Regions from separate parts of the Homo sapiens genome. Here all the other regions are linked to region 2. The links are contacts of gene promoters, found by promoter capture Hi-C in blood cells and fetal thymus (Javierre and others, 2016). All regions are on one chromosome and are shown on one strand. The core of a region is centred on a gene start or on the middle of the fragment in contact, and the rest is flanking DNA. Distances in the headings are between cores, read along the strand shown.

Region 1 (2,882 bases), core at 344-2,843, 490 kb before region 2:
AGCCCACAGCCCACAGCTGATGGTGGACCTGGGAGTTCACAGTCTGGCCCCTTCCCTAAGGCAGCACCAGGTCTGTGGAACAACTCAAGCATCAGAGCCCCAGAAATCACGCTGGGAGCACACACTCTCGTTCAGCTCCTTCTCCTGCCCCAGCTGGTCCCCCTCACTTTTCCAGATCACACACACCCAGATCTGTTTTGTTGAGCTCTGCTTCTAGGGAAACTGACTTAAGACACACACACAGATACACGTATACACACACACCTGAAATAAAATTTTGAGTAAACAGTACTTACACTTACTTCATGTCATGCACTCTTATTTTCTGTACTATTCTTTTTTGTTTTGTTTTGTTTTGTTTGAGACAGAGTCTCGCTCTGTCCCCTATTTTTTAATTGCTTGTTTGTAACCCTCTAATTTTATTTCATAATCCATGAATGGGTCACAGCTCTGCAATTTGAAAAATACTACACTTTATAAGCAATCTAGGGATAAAACAAACAAACAAACAAAAACCTACACTTCCCTAACCTTTCCAAGTTAACCTTCTGGAGACTGGTGTACTGCAATCCAAAAGGTTCAGGACAGGGTGGAGTGAAGGGAATCTGTCATGGTATGCACGGCATTGAGAGTTTTGAGACTCAGGAGATATATTCTCCTAGGGCCAAGTATCTAAAGTAGCCCCAAGCATCTACTGCCTTCTGACTGCTGAGAAGGGCACCAGCCTCCCTCCGCTCTATCCTTTCCCCTGCAAATGCATTCACTTCTGTTCCAAGAGATAAAGCAGTTTTTGACCTTACATAAATACACAGAGATGTACATAAGAAAAGTTTATTTCAGCATCATCTATGATGCCAAAACCAAAACATCCCAAATGGCCCTCAGTAAATGCACCTCAGTACAACCAGACAAAGGAACACCATGTGTCCATTAAAAATAATGAAATAAGTTATGTAAGTACTGAAAACTTTCCATGATACACTAACTGCAGAAATCAATTGGCCCTACAGTTCTCCAATGTAATTTCATTTTTATTTTTGTAAAGTTAGTATGTGTATGGTAAACATATGGAAAAATAGGCTCAAAATTATTTGTGGTAATCATCTGCGGGGGCATGATTACGGAACACTTTCTTTCATTTTCTAAGTCATACATTTCCATAGCGTTTGAACTTTTTACTGCAAGCATGAATTATTTCTAAAATGAGAAAAAGCAATACCTTTTCATTTAAAAAAGGCAAAATACAAAAAGAAGGTATTTTATAAGGTGGCATCGTAAGTTCCTTTGAAGGTACAATAGCAGTCCTTCAGCGAATAAAGTATGCATTCAAAAGTGAGACAGGAAACATTTCTGTAAGTTCATGCCCTCAGATAACATCTTTGCTCCAACATATAGACATATCAGATAAAGAACAAATGGAGAAGACTTATACACTGTAGTGAGACTCAGAAACCAGATAAACATCCCTGTGTACTACAAATGACAAGAAAGCCCACCAGGAGCTGGACTGAGGCCAGGGCTTTGGTGCCTGGTTCTGAAAGCTCAGATGGTGGCTCCCACAAGGCTGTAAGGGCTAAAAGGGGTAGGGATGGAGGGAGTGGAAAGTCAGGGTTTGGGGCTCCCAAACCTTCTGGAAAGCTAGAAAATGCTGCCTGGAACATTGTTTTGTTTTAATCAAGGGTTTGTTACCCTGGCTGCATCTTTAACTTGATAAGTTTTTAGAAAAATACCACTGCCCAGAAATTCTGACTTAATTTCTTTAATTCTTTCTCCCTCTCTCTCTCCTTTCCCTCCCCGTTTCCCAGTCCCTTCCCTCCTTCTCCCTCTTCTCCCTTTACTCCTCTCTCTTCCCCTCCTAATCTCTCTCCCTCTTCTCCCTTTACTCCTCTCTCTTCCCCTCCTACTCTCTCCCCCTCTCCCTCTTTCCTGTTTAAAGGACTCCTTTGGAGATTGCAACATACATCCAGGATTGATGTTAATTAACACCTTGGGCTTAGGGGTCAACGGATCCAGACAAAGGCTCTGCCCAGGTACTCAGCCAAGCAAGCAGCCAGCTTGAAGATGAGATTTGGGATTTGCCCCCATTGTGGGTACTTCTGAACATCAGCAAGGCCTGCTTAGGGACTGGAGGCCCTGGGGAAGGGAGTGGGGTTTAGGAGGGAGCCAAATACTGCTATTCAGAGTGAGGTAATGGGACAGAGAGACAGACAGGGAAAAAACATGTTCCTCCACAGGCAAACGGATGAATACATGATGTACTCATATAACAGAATGTTATAGAGTGATGAAGATTTGTAACCCAGCATTAACATGGCACCAAAGTGGATATCCCTCAAAAACATAATGCTGAGTTATAGAAACATTTTACAGCATGGTTTGTATGTTATGATGCCATTTATTTACATTTTAAACACTAGGAACCAAAAACCATATATTGTTTTGCAGCTAAAACTATTAAAATATTCATGAGATTCTAACACACTGACTTCGGGGCAGGGGTTCCCTTTGGCAAGGGAGGAAGAGGAGTGGGGTTGAAGAGAGGTGCACAGGGAAGAATAAATGGGAACAAACCGTGGGTACCCGCACTGCACAACTTGGGTGGATCTGAAGGCATCGTGCTGTGTGTAAGAAACTGGTAGTAAAAGGTCACATAATTTATTACTCCATTTATGACATTTATGAAAAGACAAAATTATAGTGATGAAGAATAGATTAGTGGTTGTCAGGAGGAAGATGGGACTACAAAGGGATAGTCCACCAGGGTGGTGGGGTTCTTCTGTATCCCAGCTGTGGTGATGGTAACGCAAATCTACACGTGCATTAAAATTCACAGGACTGGCCATGCTCAAAGGCTCACGCCTGTAATCCCAGCACTTTGGGAG
Region 2 (2,944 bases), core at 150-2,649:
AAATAGATATTTTCTAAATTATCAAAGGCTACAGACACTCATCCAAAGCATTCCTCAAATTTTTTCAATCGTTGCTTTTAGGCACACCTTGAGGTTTTTAAGTTTACTCTGGGGCAAGTCAAAAAGCTTACCTAAAATAAAGCACTTTAAGCAAGAATAAAATGATGCAGCTGGTCCTAGAACACACCGGAAATAAAAATCGTTGTCTTCAAAACCCGAAACAAGAAATGACATGCTTTTAGCAAATTTGACTTTCATGTGCAGGGGGGAGGGGGCACTGTTTTGACAATCCACTAACTACACTGTACATCTACTCCACCTGAAAGTTTAACGAAACTCTTCAAGTTGGGTCACCCAGGGACCGAACTTCTACTCTAAGAGACCCAATCCAGCCTACAAATCAAAGAACATCCCCAAATGGTTTACCCTTCTCCCGACCAAACCCTTTCCCCTGGGCGACAGAATGTTTTCAAGAACACCAACACACCCTCCTGTGATCTCTCTCCAAACACAGGACACAGGAAGAACCGAGGCCACTAGTCTCAGATAAGCGGGTGATGACTGCTGCCACTCCACGGGCGGCCCCTCTGCAGAATGGGGTCGGTCAGGACCGGCGCGCCGGGTAAAGAACAATACACGAGCCCAGCTGCAAACAACACAACTTCCCACGAGTCTGCGCGGCGGGTCTCGGCGGCGGAGAGGACTTCGGAATCCGCCACCGGGCAGGGGCTGGGGGAGGAATGGTGAGCAGGATGAGCGCTGAACGAGGACGGCGAGACCGCCAGCCTCGCTGCGGCTGCCTGCACCGGCGCCCGCCGAGCAGACTGGAGGGATGCAGCCACCAGCCTGGGTTCCACCGCTCTCACCAGGCGACGCGGATGCCCCGACTTCGCTTCTCTGGGAGGCGACCCCCGCCTCCCGGGGCCGCCAGGGCGGTGGGGGGCGGGGAAGGCCTCGCCGGAGGCTTGGGAGCCTCCTCGGCCCGCCACCGAAGGGAAAGCGGTCGGGGCGCGGGGGACAATAGGGAGCGGGGAGCGCGGCCCGCCAGAGTGGCGCCGCTGGCCGGCTGGGCTGACTGACGCGCACGCCGCGAGGCGCGACTGGGCTCCGCTCGGCCCGGCCGCCGCTCCGCCGTGGTCGCGGCGCCCCCGGCGCTCGCAGTCGTGCCTCACCTCCCATCCCCGCCGCCCAGGAGAGGAGCAGAATTAACACTCTCAGCAACACCATCTTCCGCTGCCGCTGCCGCCGCCGCCGCCTCCTCACGGGTTAACAGCAGCACATCGATCCGGAGGGAGAAGCTGAAGGGGCTTGGTCCGGAGCCTCCACGGGAAGCCGGGACCTCCCCTGGCAGGAGAAACGGCGAAGCACCTCCCTCTCGCTCCACTTCAGGGGCCGGCAACGCTCCTAGCTCCTCCAAAACAGGGACCTCCCTCCCCCTCGTTCGTTTCCTTCCTCCTTTCCCCGCTTTCCTTCCCTTGCTCGTTCCCTCTTCTCTCCCCCCCTCCTTCGAAACTCAGACCTCCGCCTCCTTCCTCACCACGTGACGCGCGGGCACCCAACTGGCACGCGGAGCCGCGCCCCTACCTCCCGCCCCTACCCGTCCCCCAGGCGCTTCAGGGGCGCGCGCATGCGCGCGGGGGACGGTTCCCGTGCTGCTAGGCCTGCCGCCGCTTCCTGTCCGCCGGCGGAGAGCTGGGATTGGGCTTGGGAGGCGGGGTTTGTCCTGGTCCCGCCCCGGGGCGGGAGCGCTCCTACGCGGAGATAGTGCTCCGCTACGTGTTAGAGCTGCTGAGGACCTTCCCTTGGGCTAAAATGGTCCGTGGAAGATGTAAGCAGGGCTGCTTTCGACTTCTTAACGTCACAAGTAACAGAGGTTTTTTTTCTTCTTTTTCTGCCTCTCTTGGTGCACCACAGCTACCAAGTAAACAAAAAGTCCCAACAAGCAGTAATTATAGCGGCAGCTGCCCCAGTGATGCGAACATAAATGCAAAGACCTTCAAGCAGCAGGAAAAAAAGACACCATGTCCGAGATGTAATTTTCCGAGCTCTTTACAAATTTATGTCACAGACTAAGGCTTTAGCCTTTGCAAAAGCATGCAACCTGAACCAGACTGTCTTGAATCTCCAGTCCAGAAAATGTCCTCTTTTCTCTCTGTCACATCTTTGAAGCGAATCCACGCACATCTTCTCCCCAACTTCTTAAAGCTTGTGTTTGTTTTCTCGTAACTCATTTTGATTCTTTAAACTTGGATGTCATGAACTAGAACTTTTTATGGCCATTTAATTAGATATTCTTCATCTATTTGGTATCGTGCTTGAGTAGGCCGAATTAGGGAGAGTGTGTGTGTGCGTGTGTGTGTGTGTGTATGTGTAAATTGTTTTGTTTTGCTTTCTAAAGACAAGGTCTCCGCTGTCTCGCCAGGCTGAAGTGCAGTGGTGTGATCATAGCTCACTGTAACCTCCAACTCAAGCCGAATTAGGGAGAGTGTGTGTGTGTGTGTGTGTGTGTAAATTGTTTTGTTTTGCTTTCTAAAGACAAGGTATCCGCTGTCTCGCCAGGCTGAAGTGCAGTGGTGTGATCATAGCTCACTGTAACCTCCAACTCAAGCGATCCTCCCGCCTCGGCCTCCCACAAGTGCTGGGATTACAGGCGTGAGCCACTGCGCTCGGCCTTAATGTTATTGATACTGTAATAAACTGGAATTCCTATACTGTTACCTGTATATTTTATACCATTTATTACCATTAACATAAGTGAAGAGAATTTTTTTTTTTTTGAGACGGAGTTTCGCTCTCGTTGCCCAGGCTGGGGTGCAATGGTGTGATCTCGACTCACCGCAACCTCTGCCTCCCAGGTTCAAGCGATTCTCCTGCCTCAGCCTCCCAAGTTGCTGAGATTACAGGCATGCACCACCACGCCCAGCAAATTTTTTGTATTTTTAAT
Region 3 (3,315 bases), core at 597-3,096, 400 kb before region 2:
GTAGTCCCAGCTACTTGGGGGGCTGAGGTGGGAGGATCACTTGAGCCCAGGAGGTCAAGTCTGCAGTGAGCTGTGACTGCACAACTGCACTCCAGCCTGGGCGACAGAGGGAGACTCTGCCTCCAAAAAAAAGAAAAAAGAAAAGCCATTCAAGCGCATATTTTGTAGTGGACCCTATGATGCAGCCCCAGATCCTTTTTCCAAAACTAAAGACCTTGTCCCCCAGCTTCTGAAAGTGACATGGAGGCCAGCCCCAGCAGTCAGCCATTGGGGAGATGCCTCAGCTGCATGAAAAGTCCCCTCCTCAAGGTCAAGTCATATCCCTGCTTGATACAAGGGTATAAATGCCAGGTTCTCTGGTTTCAACTCAGGACAGTTCTGCAGGGTCACCCCATCTTTAGACCTGCCCATAGGGTCTATGCTACAGCTTCCCTGAGACTACCATGGTTGGACAGTCCCTAATAACCTTCCCACATGCTAGTCTCTGTCTCAGAGTCGGCTTCTCACACAACCCAGAAATGAGATGCACATTTTAAAAGAAAGGAAGTCCCACACAGTACTCATTCGGAGTATCCAACTTATAGAATTCATGACATAAAGTTCTTTTGATTTTGGTGGGCTGATTCTCCCATCTGATGCCTCTGACAAATGAAGACCCCACACGTGTATACCTCTATATTTACTAGATTATACCTTCCCAGAATAGTCGTGTTCATCACTATTGTAAAAGAAACTTGATAGTAGTAGGTAATTCACTAGAACTCTTTTTCATTTTTGCCAATCATTAGGTGAAAAATTGGTTTTCACAGTGTTCTTTTAATTGGCATTACCCCAACAGCTATGGGATGAGAACGTTTTTAAGTGTTTATTTTATTACCTGTTCATATACTTTTCCCATTTTTCCTTTTGTTTCACCTATAATTTTTCTTATTAATTGGTAATAAATGTTTGGATATATGTTGCTTTCTTGACTTTTTAAATGGTGACTTTCATCCCTTTTAACACATTATATGTTGGTTTTTCCAGAATTACTTTAGTTTTAGTTTTAAAAATCCATATATACAGAAGCATATAAAGAAGAAAGTAATAAAAAAATTTTTCTGCTTTGAAGTTCTTAATTTTTCCTTGCAATTCTTCCATTCTCAATTTTCATAATTCAGATAATCTTATTTCAAGCTTTACATATGGTTTTGAATTCTTGGTTTTTCACACAATATCCTATCATAAGCATTTCCCTGGCCCATTAAAAGCCTTAATAAACATATTTTAAATGTTATCATATGAAAAACTATTATTTAATTTAATCCCTTCAAAAGTGTCAGAAATGTGGGTCATTCCCAGTTTCTACCTATTATAAATAATATTATTATGAGCTTCATGTGCATAAATATATTTGCATTCCTAGTTGTTTCCTTACAATTCTCAAGAGTGAAATTAAGTTAAACCTATTAAGAAAGTAAAGGAATAAAGAATGATTACTCCACAGGCAAAGCAGTGGCATACACCACTGTCACTCATTTTTATGATTATTTCTTGACTATATACAAAACAAGGGGTGGATTATTCATGAGTTTTCTGGGACAGGGGCGGGCAATTCCTGGAACTAAGGGTTCCTCCCTATTTTAGACCATATAGGGTAACTTTCTGTCATTGCCATGGCATTTGTAAACCGTCATGGTGCTGATGGGAGTGTATTTTAGCATGCTAATACATTATAATTGGCATATAATGAGCTGTGAGGATGACCAGAGGTCACTCCCATCACCATCTTGGTGTTGGTGGGCTTTGGCTGGCTTCTTTACTGCAAACTGTTTTATCAGAAAGGTCTTTAAGATCTTTATCTTGTACTAACCTCCTATCTCATCCTGTGACTTAGAATGCCTAGCCTCCTGGGAATGCAGCTTTGACCCACCCTCTATATGAGATGGAGTCACTCTGGTTCCACAGCCTCTGACATTTCCCCCTTCCCTTTTATAAGAGAACCCTTAACCCTAAGGGTTGTAGAGGGACAAAGATCCATCTTCTGTAACTTCTTCAGGCTGAATGGGGCGATCATATTCCTGCCTAACTGTTAGGGTCTCTTGTATTCAGGGTAGACAAGAGCTCAGTCAGAAAGCATCAGTATGTCAAGGGCCACTCATAACTCAAGTTCTGACAAAAGATGATATCCAAAGTTGGCCAATCATTGCTGCAGTCTATTTCCTTTGGGTTGGAGGTCTCAGTATCATCCTTTCATGGTTCGCCAGAAAGATGTTATCAGAAAGGGGTCCAGATCCAGACCCCAAGAGAGGTTCTTGGATCTCACACAAGAAAAAATTTGAGGCGAATCCACAGAGTAAAGTGAAAGCAAGTTTATTAAGAAAGAAGGAATAAAGAATGGCTACTCCATAGACAGAGCAGCCAAAACATAGAGACATTTAAAGGCTTTTGTTAATATAGCTCAGCTTATTTTGAGGACTCATTTGCAAACCAATGTTTTACATCTGAAAAGAAATAGTGCAGTGAAAGCATCACACTCAAGCTTGTCCAAGCTTTGGTGGTTGTGGTAGCAGTGGCTTGGGATATTCAATATAAACATATTACATTTACTGTCTATAAGCGACTATTTTGGGTACAAGAGGAATGTGAATAAGGGTGACAGGATCCTGGCCTCAAAGAGCAAAGGATCTGGGAGAAAGATGAACAATCACTGATCAGGTATGACACACAAAAAAATTCAAACAAATCCTTAACAAAATTTTAAGTCGGTTTGTGGAGGGGGTACTATGGTAAAACAAGGCAGTTGGGAAGATAACTTCTTATACTGTGGTCTCAAAAACCTCCTAAAGGGCAGTGGCGCCTTGTTTTTATAATCAATACTAGCAGTACCGTACATTTATACCAAGTCTAGGATTTGGAAAGTGGTTTGAGGATTTTCCATAATTTCCTAGGTTTATGGGTTTTGCATCTTTGCTTTTATGATCTCCTGTTGGCCACCACTTGGTTTCCTTGTTACCAAGTCACTGGCACGCAGCCGCCATATTTTTCCGGTAGAGTTTCATTTTACAGCAGCCCATTCTGCACCAGGGGCTTGAGGACTGCACTGTGTCTTCAAGGCGGGGGCCGCTTACATTCGTTGCTGTTTAGGCTGTTTGCTACTGGCCCCCGGAGGAGGCTCTAGGGGATGGAGGGAGACCTGCCTTGCTGGCTTCCAGCAGCACACGCTTTTTCCCCTACTGAAAAGCTGAAGGGACCTTCAACACCACAACCAAACTTCAACAACTTAAAGACAGCGCTGTGTGACGGCCCTAGAGTCAGAAGTTCTGAATTTGACCT
Region 4 (3,017 bases), core at 390-2,889, 430 kb before region 2:
CCATTTGTCAATTTTCGCTTTGTTGCGATTGCTTTTGGCATCTTCGTCATGAAATCTTTGCCCGTGCCTATGTCCTGAATGGTATTGCCAAGATTTTCGTCTCTAGGGTTTTTATAGTTTGGGTTTTACATTTAAGTCTTTAATCCATCCTGAGTTGATTTTTGTATATGGTGTAAGGATGGGGTCCACTTTCAATTTTCTGTATATGGCTAGCCAATTCTCCCAGCACCATTTATTAAATAGGGAATCCTTTCCCCATTGCTTGCTTTTGTCAGGTTTGTTGAAGCTCAAATAGTTGTAGCTGCGCAGTCTTATTTCTGGGTTCTCTATTCTATTCCTTTGGTCTTTGTATCTGTTCTTGTACCAGTACCATGCTGTTTTGGTTACTGTATCCCTAAAGTACAGTTTGAAGTCGGTAACATGATGCCTGCAACTTTATTCTTTTTGCTTAGGATTGCCTTGTCTCTTCAGGCTCCTTTTTGGTTCCACATGGATTTTATAATTTTTTTTTCTAATTCTGTGAAGAATGTCAATGATAGTTTAATGGTAATAGCAAAGAATCTATAAATTGCCTTGGGCAGTATGGCCATTTTCATGATATTGATTCTTCCTATCCATAAGCATGGAATGTTTTTCCATTTGTTTGTGTCATCTCTGATTTCTTTGAGCAGTTTGTAGTTCTCTTTCAAGAGATCCTTCACTTCCCTCATTAGCTGTATTCCTAGGTATTTTATTCTTTTTGTGGCAGTTGTGAAAGGGACTTTATTCATGATTTGGCTCTTGGCTGGCCTGTTGTTGCCGTATAGGAATGCTAGCCATTTTTTCACATTGATTTTGTATCCTGAGACTTTGCTGAAGTTGGTTACCAGCTTAAGAATTGGGTTGAGACAGTAGGGCTTTCTAGGTATAGGATCATGTCATCTGCAAACAAAGATAGTTTGACTTCCTTTCTTCCTAGTTGAATACGCTTTATTTCTTTCTCTTGCCTGATTGTCCTGGCCAGAACTTCCAATACTATGTTGAATAGGACTGGTAAGAGGACAATTGTGTCTTGTGTTAGTTTTCAGGGGGAATGCTTCCAGATTTTGCCCATGCAGTATGATATTGGTTGTGGGTTTATCATAAATGGCTCTTAATATTTTGAGGTATGTTCCTTCAATACCTAGTTTATTGAGAGTTTTTAACATGAAGGGATGTTGAATTTTACCAAGGCCTTTACTTTGTTCATTGAGATAATCATGTGGTTTTTGTCTTTAGTTTTTTATGTGATGAATCACATTTATTGATTTGAATATGTTGAACCAGCATTGCATCCAGAGATGAAGCCTACTTGATCATGGCGGATAAGCTTTTTGATGTGCTGCTGGATTTGGTTTGCCAGTATTTTGCTGAGGAGTTTTACACTGATGTTCATAAAGGATATTGGACTGAAGTTTTTTCTTTTTCTTTTTTTTTTTTTTTTTTTTTTTGTTGTTGTTGTATCTCTGCCAGGTTTTAGTATCAGGATAATGCTGGCCTCACAGAATGAGTTAGGAAGGCATTCCTCCTTTTCAGTTTTTCAGAATAGTTTCAGTAGGAATGGTACCAGCTCTTCTTTATACCTCTGGAAGTGTTCAGCTATAAATCCATCTGGTCGTGGGCTTTTCTTGGTTTGTAGGTTATTACCGCCTCAATGTCAGAACTCATTATTGGTCTATTCAGGGATTCAATTTCTTCCTGGTTCGGTCTTGGGAGGGTGTATGTGTCCAGGAGTTTATCCATTTCTTCTAGATTTTCTAGTTTATGTGCATAGAGGTGTTTACAGTATTCTCTGATGGTTGTTTGTATGATTTTCTTAGAAACATTGTCTTTTCTCTAGCTTACTTTATTATGACTACAATATATAATATATATTATATACAAAATATGTGTTAATCAACTATGTTATCAGTAAAGCTTCTGGTCAACAGTAGGCTATTTGTAGTTAAGTTTTTGAGAGTAAAAAGTTTTATGCAGAATTTTGACGGTACAGGGGGTCAGTCAGTACCCTAATCTTCATGTTGTTCAAGGGTCAACTGTAATTCGTATCTTGCCTTTTTTCAGAAAGAATTTAGGTTGACTCACAAAAATAGGTAAAATATATCAAAGGAATATAAATCAGTAGTAGGCAAGAAAGAAGAGACAAAAGGAAAATGAGATGGAAACATAAACAGAGCCAGGAATGAGGCCTATACAAAAACGCATGTCAAGAAATTCCGTGCCCTTGCTAAGGGTTGACTCTAAACCTTTCGGTGCCTGAAAACGAAAAGATGTTTAAAAAAAGTGTTAAGTCAGAGAAAGGCCATGGGAAGGAGTTGGGATGAGTGTGGAAGGAGCCAGAGAATACAGAGAAAAGAGGTATAGATTCATGATAGGCTTTTACTAATGCCGAATCACCTTCAGATGAGGGTGCTATGATATTGTGATCTCAGTATATGGGAAACGTAAACTTTACCACGTTTAGAGAGTGATGTATTAAGTTGGCTAAAAGTACTAAGATTAATAATATCTGACATTTATACAGAGTCTGGAGGACACATTGCACAGTGAAATGCACTACTACAAATAGCACGAAGCTCTCTGGGCACCAAGGTGCCAAGACTGCCAGGGTGGGAAGCCAGAATATCACTGTGGCCTACACATATGGGCTCAAGACGGACTGGAAGCTACTGATTCAAATGCAGATTGATTGTACAATGAGACTAAGCTCCCACTCCTCACCGAGGAGAACATCATTTGGATTTTCAGGCTCTGGCACAGTATGTAATTTAGACCAACCTCCCAGCAAAGATAATTTAAAGAAGGACAACACAATCACGTTTAATGTGGAGGACAAAATAATTGTCTATGTTGAAAATCAACAATGGAATCTACAAATGCTACTAGACCTAATAAGTGAGTTTTGCAAGGTTGCAGGATAAAAGATCAATATGCAAAACCAGCTGTATCTCTATACACAAGCTATAATCAGAACTTATAATTTAAAAACTATCATTTAC
Region 5 (2,977 bases), core at 156-2,655, 330 kb before region 2:
GAACTAATAGAAATAAGGACAAAAGATATGAATAAGCTATTCTCAGCAACAGAAATTTGAATGAACAATCACACACGTAAGAAAATGTTCAACCTCACCAGTAATCAGAAAATTTAAAATTAAAACAATGAGATACCATTTTACATCCATCAAACTGGTGAAAATTAAATAATCTGACACTCCTCAAGTGTTGGTGATGAGGTGGAAAAACTGAAGGAACACTCACATTTTGCCAACGATACTTTCACGGAAGTAATTTATTTGAAGAATAAATTGTCAACATCTTACTAACTCTGATGGGACATATATCTTACAATCCAGCAATTTCACTTCTAGGAATAAACTCTAGAAGCTTTCACTTGTGGATGATGCAATGTCTACTGCAATATTGTAATAGGAAAATGAAAAAACTAAATAACACAAGTATCCATCAACCCAATGAACAAATTCTGATACTTTCTTAAAATGGGACCATTTGTAGGTGTTTTATCAACAGAGATAAATCTCGAAAATACACTGCTGAGTGACAAAACAAGTTGCAGATAGATGTGTAGAGTATAAAAGTTTGAAAACATACAAAATAATGGTACAATCATCCCTCTATATCCATGGGATTCCACATCCATAGATTCAATCAACCGAGGATGCAAAATATTTGGGGGGAAAATTATACAAAATTCCAAAAGGCAAAACTTGAATTTGCCACATCCTGAGTACCATGTTAAAACCAGGCAAATGAAGGGATGTATAGGCATTGTATTAAGTATTATAAGTAATCTAGAGGTGATTTACAGCATATGACAGAATGTGCATAGGTTATATGCAAACACTACACCATTTTGTATCAGGGACTTGAGCATCAGTGGGTGGTCCTGGAACCAATCCCACACAGATACTGAGGAACTACTGTATATTTTTCGTAGCTACATACATATGCTGCAAACATATACACACAGAGATGAGAATGAAAGACACCAAACTCAGGGTGGCGTTGCCTCTGAGACAGGAAAAATAAGATCAGGCTTGAGAAGAGATACACAGTTATACAGGTACAGCACTCTATTTTTTAGCAAAAATAGGAAGCAAGTACAGCAAAATATTAGGATTTGATGGAGCTGGGAAGTAGGTGGTATTCAAAACTATGCATTATACGCATGCGTGTGTTTGAAATCATTATAATTTCTTAAGTGAGCACCTCAGTTTTTACATATAAAAACATATAAAGTATGTAAAATATATAAATATCATGAACAGATAATTCATAAAGAAAGAAAAAAGGCAATAAAAATGGAAGTGGTGGTAAATTCAACTTCAACCCATTGGTTTTAAAGAAAAATTTAAAAATGCACATACCATTTTGGCTTATCAATTTAGCATAAAATTACAAAAATGTTAATAGCTAATGTTAACAAGGGTGGAGGATAGGACAGAGGAGGAGTACACTCACTGCTAATGAGTACTTAAAATGACAGAAATTTACTTAACGTAGCAGTGTATATGTAAAGGCAAAATATATAGGTAGATATAGATACCTAGATATAAAACCTTTGCCTTAGCAATTCTACTTTAAGAAATTTATACAAAGGAAAACGTGGTACATATATGATCTGTAGTATTATTTTTAAGGAATACTACGCAGCCATAAAAAAGAACAAAATCACATCCTTTGCAGCAACATGGCTACAGCTGAAGGTCATTATCCTAAGCAAATTAACACAAAAGCAGATAAACACTGCACGTTCTCACTTATAAGTGGGAGCTAAACATTGAGTACAAGTGGACATAAAGATGGAAATAATAGACAGTGGCATTCTAAAAGGGGTGAGAAGGAGAGGGGGACAAAGGTTAAAAAAACCTATCGGGTACAATATTCACTACTTGGGCAATGGAACCATTAGAAGCTCAAACCTCGGCATCACACAATATACCCATGTGACAAACCTGCACATGTTCCCTCAGAATCTAAAATTTTTTTAAGCTACTAAAAAAATAATTTATACAAAGAAAATCATACATGTGGACCAAGATTTATGCATATGTTTATAATAGCATTGTTCATAATAGTGTTATCTTAAATACAGTTAATGAAAAAACAATAGGGAATTAAGCCAATTATGGTACATCTATAGAGTGTAACTGTACTCTGTAGCTATTTCAAATAATGTTTTAAAAGAATATTTAATGCCCCTGAAATATGCCATTAATGTGTTGTTAATACACAGGTATTTAAACACTTTGTACAGTGTGTTTACAGTTATTTTTTTTAAATAATTGTATACATAGAAAAAATGACTTGGGGATATCCACATCAAAATGTCAACAGTGCTTATCTCTAAATGTGAAATCACAGACCTATGTATGTTTTTCTTTTTGTTCTTCTTTATTTTCCTATTTTACAATAATAAACATTTATTGATTTTATAATAGAAAAGTTATTAAAAATAAAACGTGCAACAAAATAAGCTTTGGTTGATTAAAGATTTAAATATAAAATCAAATTATGATAGAACTTGCAGACAACTGGAAAGAGAGTTTATCAGCTCTCTGGGGTAATTTTAACTTTCTCAGCTTTGAAGCAATTGAAATGATTGCACTATAAAAATTAGCATTACTGAAGATTTTTTAAGAGGGAAAATATTTCTATCAAACATTACAAAGAATTAAGATCCATCATAAATAACTAATTCAAATTTGTAAAATAAATGTCAAGATTCCAAAAGATAAATGGGTCAAAGACTGGACAATTCCCATAAGGGGCATACAATTAGTAGATAAACATAGTGGGGAAATGTTAATTCTTGCCAGAAATCAAAGACATGTAAATGGAAGCAGTCTGGAGATGCCAGTTTACATATTCTAATGGAACAACAAGAAAAAATGTCAAATGCTAATATCCATTGATGGTGGAGCTACCCAGAAATTTATCCATACCTTCATTTATAACCATATTGTTCATGTCCTTTTACCAGAAATGTTA
Region 6 (3,119 bases), core at 190-2,689, 450 kb before region 2:
GGGCTTTCTGGGTCTGCGCTCTTCGCTCATGGTATTCCCCAGCCCTCTTAGGTCAGGGGCAGAAGTTGCTCCACAAGCAGTTAGAAACACGCCAGAAGAATGTGGTGAGTTTTCTGAGAGCCGCTGAGTAGCTGTGGGCCGATTCATGACTCAGTTTCATCCACTTCAGGACTCCCTGGGAGGCAACTTTCCCCCAGTTCACCTCTACCTCTCTGTGGATCACTGATTAAGCCTGGCTCTGCCTTCTTCACACCCTGGGCCTCCAGAGGTGACCCTCTGTGAAGCCTAGGCAGGGCCAAAGACAGGCCATCAGCTTCAAAGGAGAGGAGTGAGGTCTTTGTTTCCTTCACAGCAGTGGTTTTTAAACCACAGAAGTTGCTTAGAAAGGCCTCTGGGAACTCTCTTGGGGAAGACTGCAGGGGATGGAGGCCACAAGGACCTGTTTCTGTGTCTGTATTAGTCTGTTTTCACACTACTATAAAGACGCTACCTGATACTACCCAAGACTGGGTAATTTATAAAGGAAAGAGGTTTAATTGACTCACAGTTCTGCACGGCTAGAGAGGGCTCAGGAAACTTACAATCACGGCAGAAGTCAAGAGAGAAGCAAAGGCATGTCCTACATGGCAACAGGCAAGAGAGACCCAACGAGCAAAGAGGGAAGAGCCCCTTATAAAACCATCAGATCTCATGAGAACTCACTCACTTTCACGAGAATAGCATGGAGGAAACCACCCCCATGATCCAATCACCTTCCACCAGGTCCCGCTCTCAACATGTGGGGACTATAGGGATTACAATTTGAGATGAGATTTGGGTGGGGACACAGAGCCAGACCATATCAGTGTTAGATGAGCTAATGTGCTGAGGGCATTTCCCAGCACCTAATAAGGGTCCATACATCTCAGCTGTTACACACTGCTAGCAGGGGGCAGGATCTTCCAGATGCCAAGGGAAGAACTTTACATATGTTCTCCATGAAATCCTACTAAGGTTTCTGCAGAATAGGTATTACACTATCACAGTTTTATAGATGAAACTTGGACACGTTAAGTGGCTTGTCCAATGCCACACAGCAGCAGTATGTGGCAGAATCTGGTTTTGTATATGAATTAGTCTGACTCTAAAATGTGGACTCTTCCCCCTGGTCCGGGCTGTCTTATTTTCCCTTAGAAAAATCTGCAAGCTTCTCAATGCATGTGTTTCTTAAAATGACTAACAAAATACAAAATTTTTAAAAGGTAAACAAGAGCTATTAGGACAAAATCCAAAATGCCTGTCATTATAATCAGTGTGGGTATTGTAATGGAGCATAAAATGATGATCTGGCCTCCTGAAAGGCCAAAGAGTGATATAAAATACAATCAGTAAAATCTGTCTTCCTGAGCCCTCGTCCTCTGGTGGCTCTTCCTCCCACATCCCGGTATCTACCTCTATCCTTCTACCAGAAGTATTCTAGTGTCTACTGCTTGATCACCACCCAGGGTAGCATCCCATGCCCTGGTCTTATCTCTCCTCCTTCAGCTTGCGAGCCTGCCTTGGGTGATCAATTTTTCGTGCAATTTTTTGTGCAGGCATACAAATCAGAGAAAAAGCCATGTGCAAAAAAGAATTGGTCTGGGCAGCACAGGCAATTACAGACCAGGGCAGAGTACAGTGAAGGACCGTTTGAGGATTAGACAGGAGGGGCAGTAAGCTTATCTCCAGTGGAGGAAGCCTCTCCATAGGTCGTGGGCATGAGGGAGAATTCAGAACTGGAGTGTCTTTGGACACCTTACATATTGTATCACACAGTCTCCTGCCTACTTCACCACGGTTTTGGCTGCTCATTCTCTTCACAATCAGTGCAAGGTCAAACAAATTTTACCAAACAATCCTGGAAGAGCAGGATTATTTCCCTGAACATTGCATCCCCTTCCTACTCTGTTGGTGTGCGGGACAAATGCAGCTAATTAAATCTGATACTGAAGGCAGAGTACGTCAACCAGTGGTTCCCAGTTCCTGGGGGCTATGAAGATATTTCAGGGGTCTAAGAAACCATATGTGCACCAAGCACTTACTGTAGACTGACTATGCCTCCTATTATTGTGAACCACCATTTCACACATGTACGCAGATACTATTGAGGCCAAGGAGTTTCAGCTCAGAGAGAATGCTGAACACGGCAGGCCCCATGACAGATATTCCACTCCTTGCTTATATACCTGCAACATACCCTTCTTTCTTAACAGCTTTCAATACATCCTATTCATTGTAATGAGTATTACACAGCTATACACAACTCACTTGCTCCCAGCAAGAAGGCAACCAAAGACATGTGTTCTGCAGGTACTATGTGCAATGGCTAAGTCATGTGGACCCTTGAAAAGTTGACTTTCTGCAGCAAGCCCATGATCTTCTGATAATACTCCTCCAGTGTTCCTTCTGCAACCCTTTCTAACGATAGGTCCTCTCTATTCTGCAAACTCGGGGCAAATGGTGAATGGAGACACAACCAACACACCTGACAAATATGGTGGAAGGTGAACAGAGAATTTTTAAGCTGGCAATAAAGAAAATAATAACATCTATTTTGTTTTTTAAAAAAATGAAAGAGGGAATGGAGTAGTGTTATTCAATTGTCAGATACTTTAGCAGAGAGTGGAAAATTCACCTGAAAAAGAGGGAGGGACAATCCCCTTATTTCTACAACTGATCCTAAGGCTGTAGCTACCATTTATAACTCTCTTCTTCACCTCTTCCATGTTCCCTTTGCTTTTTGCCCAAGGGAGTAACTCTAACTTTTGCTATCAGAAAATCTTTTGGCTGCAAATAATAGAAAACCCAAGAGTGATTGGATCCAACTGCAAATACTAGAAAAGCTATCAGTGGTGTAAATAAATAGAGATTTGTTTTTCTCATATAGCAGGAAGTAGAAAGCAATTTCTGGTGTTGGTTTAGCAGTAATGCAGGTCTCTGGGTCACATCTCTGTTCTGCTCTCACGCTTTGCCTCCTGATCACAAGAAAGCCATCATGGGTGTCCAAGCCATGTTCAAGGCAAGAAGACTGAAGAGAGATTGACACCAGCTGCTTCCAGACTTTGTATCAGCAAAAGCAAAGCTTTCATAGGAGCTTCCAG
Region 7 (3,103 bases), core at 369-2,868, 510 kb before region 2:
AAGAAACAGAAAATTACCTGGATTCCAGAGATAACAGATGACGTTTATTGGAGATTCGATAATCTAATTGGGTCAAGGGAAAATGTTGAGTTGATCTTTCTGATTAAGTAGCTGCTGACCTAGAAAGAAGAGGGAGGTGTAGCCGAGCCCGTTGTCCTCCAGTGCCCTCCCCTCCCCTCCTGTCTGGTTTGATTCCCTGCTATTACAGTCACTCCTTTAACTTGCTGTCTTATTTATTCAGTGCACTTGAACTGAGTACTTTCCACATAACCGACGCTAGGGACACCGCAGGACATAGTTGCTGCCTCTGAGGAGCTCCCAAATTTGGTAAGAAGTCACCATTTGTTTTCACCTATATTGTCTAGTTAATCCTCAGAACCACCCCATGAAGTAAACAAGGTGAGAACAGATATACTCATTTTATGACGGGGCACACTGAGGCACCAAGGAGCTCATTGTTCTGCCCCATGTCTCCAACAATCACACTCATTAGAATTCCACCTGAAGCACTGTTTTGAGTATTCTGTCTTCTTGCCTCCACACTTACGAAATATACCTACATGGCCAATCTGTTAAAAGTTTCCACTAGTCATCAATGAAATGAGAAAAAAAATGATGATGGGAAAGTTTTTTCATTAAACTAAATTTTTTCTAATTAAAGAACCATTTTTCTTTTTTTTTCTTTTTTTATTATACTTTAAGTTTTAGGGTACATGTGCACAACGTGCAGGTTAGTTACATATGTATACATGTGCCATGTTGGTGTGCTGCACCCATTAACTCATCATTTAACATTAGGTATATCTCCTAATGCTATCCCTCCTCGCTCCCCCCACCCCACAACCGGCCCTGGTGTGTGATGTTCCCTTTCCTGTGTCCATGTGTTCTCATTGTAAAGAATGACTTTTCTATTCTGAAATTATGTCCTTCCTTCTTTTTGGTATTAAAATGCTCCTTTTTTAAATCGTAGTTTTTTTTTTTTCTTTTTACTGCACTTATACGGCAACACAAAATATTGGTGATTCTGCTGATTCCCAGACCTGTTTGCTGGTCTTTGAATCACTGCCGTAGATGCACATGATCCCTGAGAGGGACAGAAAGGCTATCCCATCATTCAGGGGCATAGGCGAGGCACTCTTACTATTTGCAGCACCCAAGGTGTCTGAGACCATGGCCTTGATGGGGAAGACAGGGACTCTTTGAGGAGCCTTGGATTGAGAAAAACAAGGAGCAGTGACATGCTGCGATCCCTTCACTCTGACTTACACGAGACCCAGGACTCTCCATAGCCATGGCAACTAGCCCAAAATGACAAGGCTGATTAATTCCACAAGTGCATTATTCACGTGTCACCAAATATTGACTCTTATCAACCTCCTTCCCCCAGCCATCTGTCCTCGTGTGTCAAATCAAAATAAATCAACAAACAAAAAGTGGCAGGCAGATGCCACCCCAGGGATGCTGCAATTGCACAGTCCCCAGGGCTAGTCTGAGTTCTAAGTGGCTCTTTCATTTCCCCATCTCCCTTCTTCCCCAGATGACTGGGAGTGTGCACACATGCGTGTGTGCGTGCACGCACACACACACACACACAGGTTTTAGATGGCAATGCTATGGGTATGTGAGAGGGAAACAGTTGGGGTTGAGGGCTGCTGGGATGGAAACGATTTAAAACATCCTAGGAAGTGATAATGATAAGAGACCATTTATTGAGCTCTTACTATATACCAGGCATATAAATGTCAAGCTAATGTTTAACCCTTACCACAACTCTGAGATATAGAAACTATTATTATTTCCACTTTATGGATGAAAAACTAAAAATAATTTACATTAATTGACTTGCCCCAGGTGAAACATCTAGCAATTCATGACCTGAATTCAAAGCCAATGCTGTGAATCCTTGCATGAGCCAACTCACCTGTCATTGTCACCTGGACGTGTCATTCGATCTCTCTGTGCCTCCATTTCTGGGTGCTCCATTACCATGATGCACCCAATTTACAGGGCTCTTGTGAGAGCTTAATGAGCTCATGCATGTCATGCGTTGAGAATAATCCCCAGAACATAACAAGTGCTCAGTATGTGTTGGCTATTGTTACTGATAGCATTGTTACTTTTTATTACACAATGTTGTCTCCCTTTGCTGAATGAAGGGAATGTGGAGGACACAGACTTTACAAGCAAAGAGAATATATTTCAGTGTATGAACATTCTTGGGAATCAAGTGCCAGAAGAACTACATCTCTGTCACCAAGCAGAGAATAAGTTGTTTTCTCTACATCTGCCCACACCAGGTTGCACATTCTATACCCTGTACATTGCTCAGCCTCTTGTTCTCCTCCCCACTTCCTCCTGTCTCTTCTCTTTTGACAGCTCTCCAGAGAGGCCTCTCACCCCACCTTCCATAGCTTTGTCTCCACTGAGTCAAAAGCTGTTAGATCATCTGTTTGTCCCCTGAGTGGTCCTTAGAATGAACAGCCAAATGGATGGCTTGGTGGTGGTGTGTGCCATGCCTGCAGGAAGCTCCCAAGGAAGCAATTTCCAGCACTTTCCCCTCTGCAGCTTCCCACCAAGCTATGCGAAAACATATCAATGATTTGACTGCAACGTCCCTGACAGCTGCTGCCCATCTCCACGTGGGGCCCTCCAATAACTGGAAACTTGGTCTTAAATTTTTTAACTTGGAAAATACAAACAATGACGACGACCGTGAATGTGAGTTATTTCTGTGATTTCTCTTTTCATTAAAGTCCATCCAGTCACCAGTTTGAGCCTGTCACAAATCTGCTTCTCTCCCACACGACCTTCTCTGGCCACTGACTGCATTTTCAAAAGTAGCCCAAGGCCAGAGAACAGCTGTTTGCTGATTCCCTCGAGAACAAATTGCAAATTGTGCATCATCGGCATGTGCTCTTGGCTTCTTTGAAGGATGCGTTGAAATGTGCCAAATGGCAAATGAGAATCACAGAATCCAGGTGTCTCCTAGTCACTAAGATATAACTGACATGAAATAAAAAGTGTAAATTTAAAAAGTAAAAGGAGCATCAGTCTGTAACTCCTTGAGCTGGATTGTTCTAGAGTCAACCTGTTTCCACTGGGC

What was found. The method cuts DNA at HindIII sites, captures the fragments that hold promoters and counts their contacts. A CHiCAGO score of 5 or more calls a contact.
Region 1: a fragment that was not itself captured here is called in contact with the fragment with the promoter of ADAM10 in region 2 in 14 of 17 cell types (megakaryocytes, M2 macrophages, fetal thymus and 11 more); the score reaches 28.3 in megakaryocytes.
Region 3: a fragment that was not itself captured here is called in contact with the fragment with the promoter of ADAM10 in region 2 in 10 of 17 cell types (fetal thymus, megakaryocytes, erythroblasts and 7 more); the score reaches 11.0 in fetal thymus.
Region 4: a contact is called between a fragment that was not itself captured here and the fragment with the promoter of ADAM10 in region 2, in 1 of 17 cell types (megakaryocytes). The highest score is 5.2, in megakaryocytes.
Region 5: a contact is called between a fragment that was not itself captured here and the fragment with the promoter of ADAM10 in region 2, in 12 of 17 cell types (megakaryocytes, total CD4 T cells, erythroblasts and 9 more). The highest score is 8.6, in megakaryocytes.
Region 6: a contact is called between a fragment that was not itself captured here and the fragment with the promoter of ADAM10 in region 2, in 10 of 17 cell types (erythroblasts, megakaryocytes, endothelial precursors and 7 more). The highest score is 9.0, in erythroblasts.
Region 7: a contact is called between a fragment that was not itself captured here and the fragment with the promoter of ADAM10 in region 2, in 14 of 17 cell types (megakaryocytes, M0 macrophages, erythroblasts and 11 more). The highest score is 22.1, in megakaryocytes.

The regions. Positions count from the first base shown.
Region 1 is chr15:58,262,852-58,265,733 of GRCh38, forward strand. No RefSeq gene overlaps it. Among named protein-coding and RNA genes, the nearest start is that of AQP9, 130 kb to the left of the region's middle. The HindIII fragment of the contact is 4,002 bases long and covers 1-2,882 here.
Region 2 is chr15:58,748,308-58,751,251 of GRCh38, forward strand. It overlaps ADAM10 (ADAM metallopeptidase domain 10), which reads right to left and starts at 1,400. Exons shown (of 16, transcript NM_001110.4): 1 at 1,173-1,400. The coding sequence starts at 1,227. RefSeq lists enhancers at 533-1,168, 620-749, 1,840-2,019 and silencers at 860-1,149, 1,480-1,769. The HindIII fragment of the contact is 2,079 bases long and covers 125-2,203 here.
Region 3 is chr15:58,350,595-58,353,909 of GRCh38, forward strand. No RefSeq gene overlaps it. Among named protein-coding and RNA genes, the nearest start is that of LIPC, 80 kb to the right of the region's middle. The HindIII fragment of the contact is 1,345 bases long and covers 1,175-2,519 here.
Region 4 is chr15:58,316,120-58,319,136 of GRCh38, forward strand. No RefSeq gene overlaps it. Among named protein-coding and RNA genes, the nearest start is that of LIPC, 110 kb to the right of the region's middle. The HindIII fragment of the contact is 587 bases long and covers 1,347-1,933 here.
Region 5 is chr15:58,415,498-58,418,474 of GRCh38, forward strand. No RefSeq gene overlaps it. Among named protein-coding and RNA genes, the nearest start is that of LIPC, 15 kb to the right of the region's middle. The HindIII fragment of the contact is 2,111 bases long and covers 351-2,461 here.
Region 6 is chr15:58,299,433-58,302,551 of GRCh38, forward strand. No RefSeq gene overlaps it. Among named protein-coding and RNA genes, the nearest start is that of LIPC, 130 kb to the right of the region's middle. The HindIII fragment of the contact is 510 bases long and covers 1,185-1,694 here.
Region 7 is chr15:58,241,877-58,244,979 of GRCh38, forward strand. It overlaps LOC124903499 (a long non-coding RNA gene), which reads left to right. Exons shown (of 3, transcript XR_007064653.1): 2 at 242-327; 3 at 2,377-2,716. Among named protein-coding and RNA genes, the nearest start is that of AQP9, 110 kb to the left of the region's middle. The HindIII fragment of the contact is 6,517 bases long and covers 1-3,103 here.